2 separate regions of the Homo sapiens genome follow, and region 2 is linked to region 1. Evidence: promoter capture Hi-C in 16 types of primary human blood cells and fetal thymus (Javierre and others, 2016). All regions are on one chromosome and are shown on one strand. The core of a region is centred on a gene start or on the middle of the fragment in contact, and the rest is flanking DNA. Distances in the headings are between cores, read along the strand shown.

The links. Contacts are between HindIII fragments. The CHiCAGO score rates a contact against its expected background, and 5 or more counts as called.
Region 2: a contact is called between a fragment that was not itself captured here and the fragment with the promoter of GPR85 in region 1, in 1 of 17 cell types (neutrophils). The highest score is 5.3, in neutrophils.

The regions. Positions count from the first base shown.
Region 1 is chr7:113,084,405-113,089,242 of GRCh38, forward strand. It overlaps GPR85 (G protein-coupled receptor 85), which reads right to left and starts at 2,423. Exons shown (of 3, transcript NM_001146267.2): 1 at 1,918-2,423; 2 at 1,588-1,705; 3 at 1-487. The coding sequence starts at 317. RefSeq lists a silencer at 2,109-2,168. The HindIII fragment of the contact is 6,967 bases long and covers 2,301-4,838 here.
Region 2 is chr7:111,743,838-111,748,675 of GRCh38, forward strand. DOCK4 (dedicator of cytokinesis 4) reads right to left here. Exons shown (of 53, transcript NM_001363540.2): 43 at 3,430-3,606; 44 at 2,497-2,580. Among named protein-coding and RNA genes, the nearest start is that of DOCK4-AS1, 62 kb to the right of the region's middle. The HindIII fragment of the contact is 9,288 bases long and covers 1-4,838 here.

The DNA.
Region 1 (4,838 bases), core at 1,173-3,672:
AAACAGGACAAAACCCCCAGAAAGGCAATCACTTTGCAAGTCAGAGTCCCATAAGTCCAGGTAGAACCATTTTTGACAGAGTTGAACACAAATGGGAAACAAATTGCAGATCTGAGGATATCTGAACAGCAAAGATCCAACAGGAAGTAGTAAGGTGCTCTATGCAAGGTCTTATCTTTCACTAGCAAAATGGAGATCAGGAGGTTGCCCACCACGCTGACTCCTATTATGAAACCCAAGGAAGTCAGTTTCAGAAAGGCTGTTAGAGGCGAGAGATTTTGCAAAATGTTGTCAGCTGCATGGCTATAGTTCGCCATAGATGGATGGAGGATAAGGATACAGCCTCAGTCAAGTCTCATGATCTAGATATAAGAACAAGGAAAAGATAGATCCATACATTTTACTGAAAATATAATCCACAAAGAGAACTGATCTGATCTGCAGTCATGCTTCCTCTTTTCTTCCACTTGTTTTGCCATCAGAATATCTGAAAAAAAAAAAAAAAAAAACCTATCAGTTCTTAAGTTAACAAGCAATGATGTCAGACAGTGCTAACAAAGCTGTTCACTTATGGGGAAGCAAATAAAGTTTTAATTTTGAATACTAATATTTGCTTTACTAAATATTTTTGCTCGAGATTTCAGAGAATTGGCTTGTTTAGTTTTTCAAGCTAAGTGAATTTTAAAATGTCCCTATTTTGGACAATATACATTTGATAGGGTAACTTTAGGAGAGAAGGAATAAAATGTCCCATTCTTGTAAAATATGCCAGTCCAGGAATTAACCACTAGAATTGCAATGGAATCTACAAGATTGCTATTAGGAGGCAGAGACACTACCTACATTTATTTGAGATCTATTAGTATCTGTCAGTGTTTCACAGGCAGCTTCTCTGTTTGATGTGGGTCCAAAGAACCCGTGCAAAATATATCTTAAGTGCCACTATTCATGCTGCATAAGAGTATTTGTTGATTCATCTTAAAGCAAAATTTCAAAATTAACTTCAAAATTAATAGGAACTTACTTGTCCCAAGATTTGATGTGATTTAATCATTTGTCTTTCCCTCTCCACCCTACCCCCCATTTCTGGCAAATCTTTTAAGCCCACATGATTATTAAAATGGTTAATGTAAATATTGGACAGGGAAACACACCCAGAGGAATAATGCACTTCCATTTGTAAACCTTGGCTGCCTGGATTCAAATGAATATAACATGAACCTGTATTTCTTGGGCAATTAAGCCTTTCCCATTTACACTGATAACCTTTGTTGCAAATCACAAGTGGCTGCTTTTTAAAACAAAATGCACATTGTCTCGCAGGTGCCTGGACCACACCAGGGAAATCGGCTTCCTCTGTTATTCCCACCAAGCGTGTTTCTTTTGCCACTTCTCACTGGCCCGGAATATGCTGGTGGAAGCCCAGGCAAAACTGCGTTCGATGATTTTAATTTCCCCACCGGTACATCCTCGGGTAAATACCGATCGCATCATGCAACATTACGAAACCTGAAATCCGCCACCCCTGGATTTATAATGGGGGGAGGGTGGAGGAGGGGGAGAGGGAGAGAGACATGCATTACATACGCGAAGATGGGGAGAGAGATTGCTTCTGTGCTGCAAAGGAACCGTTCCCGGTGATTCGCAGTCTGATATTCCTCAGTCTTGTAAGGCTTTCCAGAAATGGAGCTCTCAGTAAGCCCTACTGAAGATGCATTGTCTGAATGTACTTCCATTATGCAGTTTATTGTCACAAAACACATACACACACACACACACACACACACACAGAGACACACACACACACACACACACACACAACCTGAGGGAGGGCTCTTTCTCGGTGAACCTGCAGTTTCATCAACACTGTGCATTCCCCCACATCCCCCAAACTTAACCAAGAGTATATCCTCCTACCTGTTGGTGTTGGATATCCCGACAGACTATAGCTTCTTTCTATAAATTGCTGATTTTTTTCTTTTTTTCTTTTTCTTTTTTTTTTTTTTTTTTTTGTTTTTTGTTTTTTTTTTTTTTTTTTTTGCCTTAGTGCCTTGACTGAGCATCCAGGCAGGGCTCGGCGGCGCCTGCGCGCTGGAGCCTCCTTGAGCTCCAGCCGCGTCCTCCCCTGTCGCAGCGGCACCGTCTCCCCCAGTAACGCAGGGGCCGCGGCGGCGGCGGCTGCGGTGGCGAGGGCGGCGGCGGGGCTGCTTCAGCCTCTGTGGAACCAGCAGGAACCCCTACCTGACTCCAGAGCTGGCTGGGTTTATTGACTGCCCTGTCCAATCCAACTGGCAGCATTAAGCTTTTGTCCCTTCGTGGCTGCTTCTGAACTTTTCCCTCCCCGCATTTGTAGTGGGGGGCTGGAAAGGCCCTTTCAGGACCTCAGGCCCATCCTCTTCCCAAAGGCAGCGCACGAGGAAGTCACAGTGCCCGTGACGCCCGCCCCCTCCCTCAGCTTCCCGGAACCCTAACCTTCCCCAGACACTTTCTTCCCTTTTCTTTTAGGGTGGTCCAAACCACCGGAGGCTTCTTTTATATATTTATTTTTAAGTGATGTCTCCAGCTAACCTTTAAATTTGCAGGTTAGCTGGAAAAAGACAAGAAAAGAATGGGAAAAAAGAAAAAAAGTTATTTATTTATTTATTTATCTTTTTCCCACAGTTAAAAATCTTTTCAATGGGGAAGAAGGGAAGGCACGTTAGGGCAGCTCTCTCTTTGTTAGTCATCTTCTATTCTCCAATGCACGCAAATATGCGTAAAAGTAGGGAGAAAGCTAAGTTCAGAGGACAACTACAATATGATTTACATTCAGTCTACCTTAAAGGATGTCACTAAAGAATCAGGCTTATAAAATGTTTAAATGGCTATTCCTGGCATTCCACCCCACCAAGCAACAGTATTCCTTTTCCCTTCTTACAAGTTCCGCTGACCAATGATGGGTGATGTCAAAGCAGTTATGTGTACGAGTTTCCTTTTTTCCCCTTTGTTATTACAGATGAAAAATACTAGAAATATAACAAATACGTAAAACTTACACCAGTCCAAACGGTCGGATGATACCACAGACACCACAAAGCCTGACACGTGGGTGCTTAGGAATGCCTCTAGAATCATGCATTTTCTTATTTTACCATTTCCGAAGAGTTTTGTTTGTGGAGGTGATATAAAATTTTAAGCAACAACTTCCCAGTTCTCCTACCCAAAACTAGCAGACACGCTTTCATTAATTCCCAATGTAAAACGTCTGCTTCTTTTTCTGCATGCTTTTTGCTTTATAATAATCTGTTAATGAAACAAAAAATAAAAATCTTCTCTACAGTAATAATCTGATCTTGAGACAGCAGTAAAATACCTCATTGCTGGGTGGTGAGATTGTGACATTCAGGGGAACTCAGGCCAATCAGCATACAGATAATATGGGTTAATTTACATACTGTATTTCTATTGGATGAGCCGAGGTAAAGCCTTATCTTGATGTCACAGTCGTTACACAAAGCCCTATGTTGGTAATACTGAAATGATGTTAAATTTCCCTGATTTGTTCTTGAATTTCCTACGTCCATTTAAATACATGGATAATAGTTTGTTTTTTTCGAAAAGAATATACACAAGGCACTAAACTTTGGCATTCCCTTAACCTAGAAAAATCAATCCTACAGCCATGCTGGAAGTAACTTGAGGGCATTTCCATTCAAATAAAACATTCCACTTTTTGCAAAGCAAATGAATTCAAAACTCAAAACCATGTGGTGGTTTGCAACTTCTAAGTAAAATGTCAAATTCGTTTTTATGAAACTACAAATCACTTCAACTTGTGCTTTTTTGCTTCCCAATAAATGCTTCAATGTACTTTGCAAAGAGTTATTTCCTGAATTTTTACAGTTTTAAAAAATGTATGGAATAAGAGGCTTAAGTTTGCTGAAGATTCATGATTGGTCAGATGTTAGGTTGTACAGATTAGGGAAAAGCTATTTTAAAGTAAATTAAAAGAGTCACTGCACTGCCAGGCCATGAAGCAGTAATATACTCTGCCAAAAGTTATAGGGCCAAGATCCAAGGGTTTTAACTAGTCTTATTCTTTAAGCAGATATTGATTCCTTAAAAATAAGGGAGAGGGTATATGTGTATGCAATATTCTTTCATATCCACATCTCAGGGTATAGTAAAGCTATTTTTTTCCTTTGCAGTTGAGCACAGTTACATCCACTAATTCTTCAGCTTTTCCAGCTGTTGGATAAGAATGTCATTTTCTTGCCTCACAAGGGGACTCAAGAAATTAATGAGATATTTTCTATCTAGCTCATTAACTCTACTGGAGAAAACATTGGAAGCTACATCTTTCATCAGCAGGGCTTTAAAAAATATGTTTAATAGCTGACAAAAGTTTCATATCATCTACAAGTTCTCAAATGTAAAGTTATTGCTTCAAATTGTTTAGATCATAGGCTTAGTTGGTCTTAACTAATTTCTTTTTTTTTTATCCCCTACATCACCAAACCCAGAAAATTTGATTTTCAGGTTAAGAGTAAAAGAACAAAGCAAATACAACAAAACTATATGCTCTAATCCTTGGGTTTGAAGGGTTCTGAAGATTTACAAACTGTTGGAATATTACATGTACTATATTGATCAGTGTATTAGGAAAACTGATATAATTTGCTTAATTTGGTTCTTATAAAAAGTACATACCATTTTATTTTAAAAACCAATGACCTTGCTTTCAAAATTAATCTATTTCAGATTTTTGCCAACTGATGCATAGTATCATGATCAGCAAAAACAGTGTTTTTTTCTGTGCATTGTTTACATGAAAGTGTGTGTCAGGAAATAACACTTGG
Region 2 (4,838 bases), core at 714-3,213, 1.3 Mb before region 1:
GAGACAGAGTCTCACTCTGCTGCCCAGGAAGGAATGCAGTGGTGTGATCATAGCTCACTGCAACCTCGAACTCCTGGGCTAAGGTGATCCTCCCACCTCAGCCTCCCAAGTAGCTGGGCCTACAGGCATGCACCACCACACCCAGCTAGTTTTTAGGTTTTTGTAGAGATGGGGTCTTGCTATGTTGCCCAGGCTAGTCTTGAACTCCTGGTGTCAGATGATACTCCTACCTCAACCTCTGGACCTTTAATGGTCTGTCAAAGTTGTCCTGTGTTGGTCCCAAATGGCCAGGCTTTCTATTGCTTCCTCAGTATGGGATGTGCACCACTGAGAAGGTAGCAACCTTGGGCCAAGTGGCTCTCTGCAGTGGAGGCAATCCCTGAAGGGCCTGACAGCTGGAGATGTCTGTTGAGAGCCACATTTCCTGCAGCTGAGGCAGAGTAAGTCTGTCCTGGAAGGAGCACTGGGGTGGTGCATGTCTCTGTCCTCTAGAGAGTTTATCTGAACTACTTTGCAGAGGTCCAGAGAAGGATGGTGCCCTCTCCAGTCCACCTCCCCACAGAGATGATGAGACTTGGCCAAGGGCACATTGACAGTCACGTGCACTGCTTGTCTTATAACAGAGATCTCACATTTTCTAGGCCATGGCTCTTTCCACAAGGTTTCAGGAACATAAGCAGGACGTAGAAGAAATAAAGGTTCCCTGGTTTTATTTTTCTTGGCAGTCTTCTTGACCCTGAGCTACCATTTAATTCTGGGGAAATAATTCAGTCAGGCTGAATCCAGCAGATACAGTCCTGGGGTGGAGTGAACCATTCATAAGAGGTAAAACACAGATCTTTAAAAATCAATGAAGGTTAAAGTCATTGCATAATCCTAAGTAATGGATGACCTCAACTGCTCACTTCTAGTATCTACAAACACCCAGAGTCACATTGAGAACTTGACTTATTCTTTATTTCCTTACAGATCAGCTTCAAGTAATTCTTCTCTCTCTTCTGTGGCCACCTCTCTCCCTGTAGTATTAGGTTTTGTGGACTAAGCCTACAGAGCATAAAAGATGGATGAAAACCAGACACGACCTCATTTTCTAATCCAAAGAGCATGCTTTACTTATTAATTTGGCATTATTGGGTAGAAAGAAATGCCTTTGTCATGTTTCATCACACATATTCCACTTTTCACAGGAAGCAAATGTCTTTATTTCCTGTTTAACACAGGCTTCCAACCATGTCTCCTACCTCAGAGGTTTTCAAACCATTTCAGGCTATCAATAGGGACACAGTAGGCAACAGATTACTCATTCCAGTTCTTTGTACTTGATGGTTCCAAATAAATAAACCACGCTTCTCTGGGGGTAGAAAATGATGAGTTGTATGTAGTTTTGTCCATATCATGTAACCTATAGGTTTACTTTGCAAAATATGACACTGCTTTAAAGCAAGATCTACTGATTGCCCACTTCCTTATTACAATGCTTAAGTAAAAATTTCATTCATGCCTCATATTTGGAGTTGGCCTGAACTTTTCTGAGCACAGAATTTTGAGTGAAAAGTTGGCATCGGCCAGGCGCGGTGGCTCACGCCTGTAATCCCAGCACTTTGGGAGGCTGAGGCGGGTGGATCACAAGGTCAGGAGATCGAGACCATCCTGGCTAACACAGTGAAACCCCGTCTCTACTAAAAATGCAAAAAAAATTAGCCAGGTGTGGTGGCGGGCACTTGTGGTCCCAGCTACTTGGGAGGCTGAGGCAGGAGAATGGCGTGAACCCAGGAGGCGGAGCTTGCAGTGAGCAGAGATCATGCCACTGCACTCCAGCCTGGGTGACAGAGGGAGACTCCGTCTTAAAAAAAAAAAAAAAAAAAAAAAAAAAGTTGGCATCAAGCCTACAGCAAGTCTCTAGGAAGAGAACATTCAAAGAATGTTTTAAGAGACCACATGAAGTTGTTTGTTTCACAGGTTGAACATCCCTAATACAAAAACTGAAAATCAGAAATCCTCCAAAATTTGAAGCCTTTTGAATGCCAACATCCCACAAGTGGAAAATTCCACACCCAACCTCACGTGATGGGTTGCAGTCGAAACTTCATGCACAAAATTATTAAAATATTATATAAAATGACCTTCAGGCTATGTGTATAAGATATATATGAAATAATAAATTTTGTTATTTGACTTGGGTCCCTCCCCCAAGATATCTCTTATGTATATGCAAATATTTCAAAATCTGAAACACTTATGGTCCCAAGTATTTTGGATAAAGGATACTCAACCTGTAACTGGCTGCCATAGTCTACTCATTGTTAAATTAATTTTTGCATCGGAGTGGGAAGAAGAAGTAGAAATTAGCAAGCTGGGATATATTACAGGAATCTGTCACCCTTGCTTGCCAGCTTCTGTTAGACCACTGATGCAGGAAACCATGCAGAGGGGGCTCTAGGTAAGCAAGCACATATCCAGGCAAAATAGAAGGGGGTTGGCTTCTGCTTCCCTTACCTGCTCAAGCATCAGCTCTCTTAATCGTGCAATTTTCTCCCCATCTTCAGGGTGACTTAAGATATATTCTTTGACAAAGAATGCCTAGTAAGGGAAAGGAGAATCAGTCTACTTTAGTGGAGTACAAGGCAAGTCAAAGACAAGTTGTTTTTAAAGACCTGGCATCTTTATGGAAATGACACCATTACAAACCACATTTTGGGACAGATGGGCTGATTACTAGTGTAGGTGGTTGGTCAGAATGGGAACATAAGGAAAGAATTGTTAAAGGAAGATCAGTGATTGTACAATAAGTACCCTTGCTAAAATAAAGAACAAGCCCAAATCAGTAAGCTATATGGCTTGTATCCTAAAACAAACTGCCTTAAGATTCAGTGTGACCTAGATGGTGGCCTTACCTTCCAGGGTATTATATCTTTCTGTTTAAGAGAGCAGATGAAAGGTCCACTTAAAGTATCATCTAAGCAAGATCGGTCTTATCTTTTTTTTTTTTTTTTTTTTTTTTTTTAAATAAGAGATAAGATCTTCCTATGTTGCTCAAGCTGGTCTCAAACCAAAGTGCTGGGATTACAGGTGTGAGCCACTGAGCCCAGCCCAGATCAGACTTTTCTATGCCCATGAACTTCTTTGCTTAGAGAAATTATTTTAGACGGATATTTATTAAACAGTCCTAATGTCCTTTCTACTTTTATTCATGCAAGAATGAACACACACACACACATTTTTATTATCCAAATATAACATGTTGGGAAAATGGAGTTACTGGGCAATTACAAATGACTGTATGTTTGCTCTATTTAACAAAGGACTCTGTGTCAATCGCAGCCCTATGTTTGCGTGCTGATATGGGTACATAGTCTGAAAAAAGATTCATGAAACCCTAAGAAGTCACAATTGAAAACTTTCTCTGAAACAACAATACCTAATCCTTACCTCTTGATACCTGGAAACGCCACCATTAACTGCAGCATCTATAACTCCATTCAGGCACATAGTCAGGGGATTAATATTCTGCATCTGTCTTGTCTGACACTGACTAATCAGAGTCTTCAGCTGCTGATTCTTATTTTCTAGCACTTCAATTGCATTTTCCAGAGGACTCATTTCTACCTGAGAAGCAAATGAACATAAATATATATTGAATTTGTGACATTCAAGAAGAAAGACAAAGTAGTTTATCCATGTTCTGAATTATCTGTGCTCCCCCTTGGCTTCCATCAATATCTCTACCAGGGGCCATTCCGTAGAATAGACAAGGATGTGGAAGTCAAGTGGGATGTTCATTAGCAAGGTTTGGAAAGGGCAGGTAATTATACTTATTCATTGAAATGTGGTTTGGATAATCATCAATTCTACATTAGCACTGCAACAACCAATTTAATCCTTAAAATAATATCCAAGCATCTCATGTCTTTTAAAACTAGTTTTTTTTTTCTTTTGAAGGGTTAAATATTCAGAGACCCTGAATATTATCCCCTTTCTCATGCTTATTTGATACAAAGCACCATGGGAGATATAAAGATGCATTTATGGATCCTCTGATGTCAAGGAGCTTTCAGCCCAGTTGGGAAGATGGGACATATGCCACATGAACCTCATATATATATATAACAGCACCATAAGGTGGCACAGGATGGCACACAGTTGGGAATTATAGAAAACAAGATAATATATACTGCAGGATCTATTTGTTGGAGAGCCAAATAGAATCATAATGACTTAAAAATTCCAGGCTGTATGGAGGACCTAATTGTGAAAATGATAAAAGTGCTCTTCAAATGTATGTCATTGGGACTGCTATTGCCTTGAAGAGAAGGTCTGCCAAGCTCTCAGCAATCAAGTAATTCAGGACTACAATTAGCATATTTAAATATTGGTTCATTCAGGCAAGGAAACAAATTAGAGTTTTTAAAGGTCACTTGGATCATCTTAAACCAACACTGAAAAATCCTAGAATATGAAGACTGAACATTCATCAAAGACAAAGAGAAGGGAAGATAAGCAAGAACATAGAAGATTTTGTAACATGTGTAACCATCAAAAAGCACGTGTTCAGGGTATATAAGGATTCTTAAAAACCAGGAAGAAAAAGGCAAACGACCCAATAAAAAATGAGCAAATGAATTAAACAACCACTTACAAAGGAATACATTCAAATGGCCAGTAAACAAATAATGAAAAGGTGTTGGGCCTCATTTGTGATCAAAGATGTGAAAAATACTGCTACAATAACATACTACTAAACACCCACTGAAATGGTAAAAATGACAACAGCAGATGAGAGTGAGACTGTGAGCAACGGACTCTCAATTACTGCTACTGGAAGTTCAAGTTGGTTCATT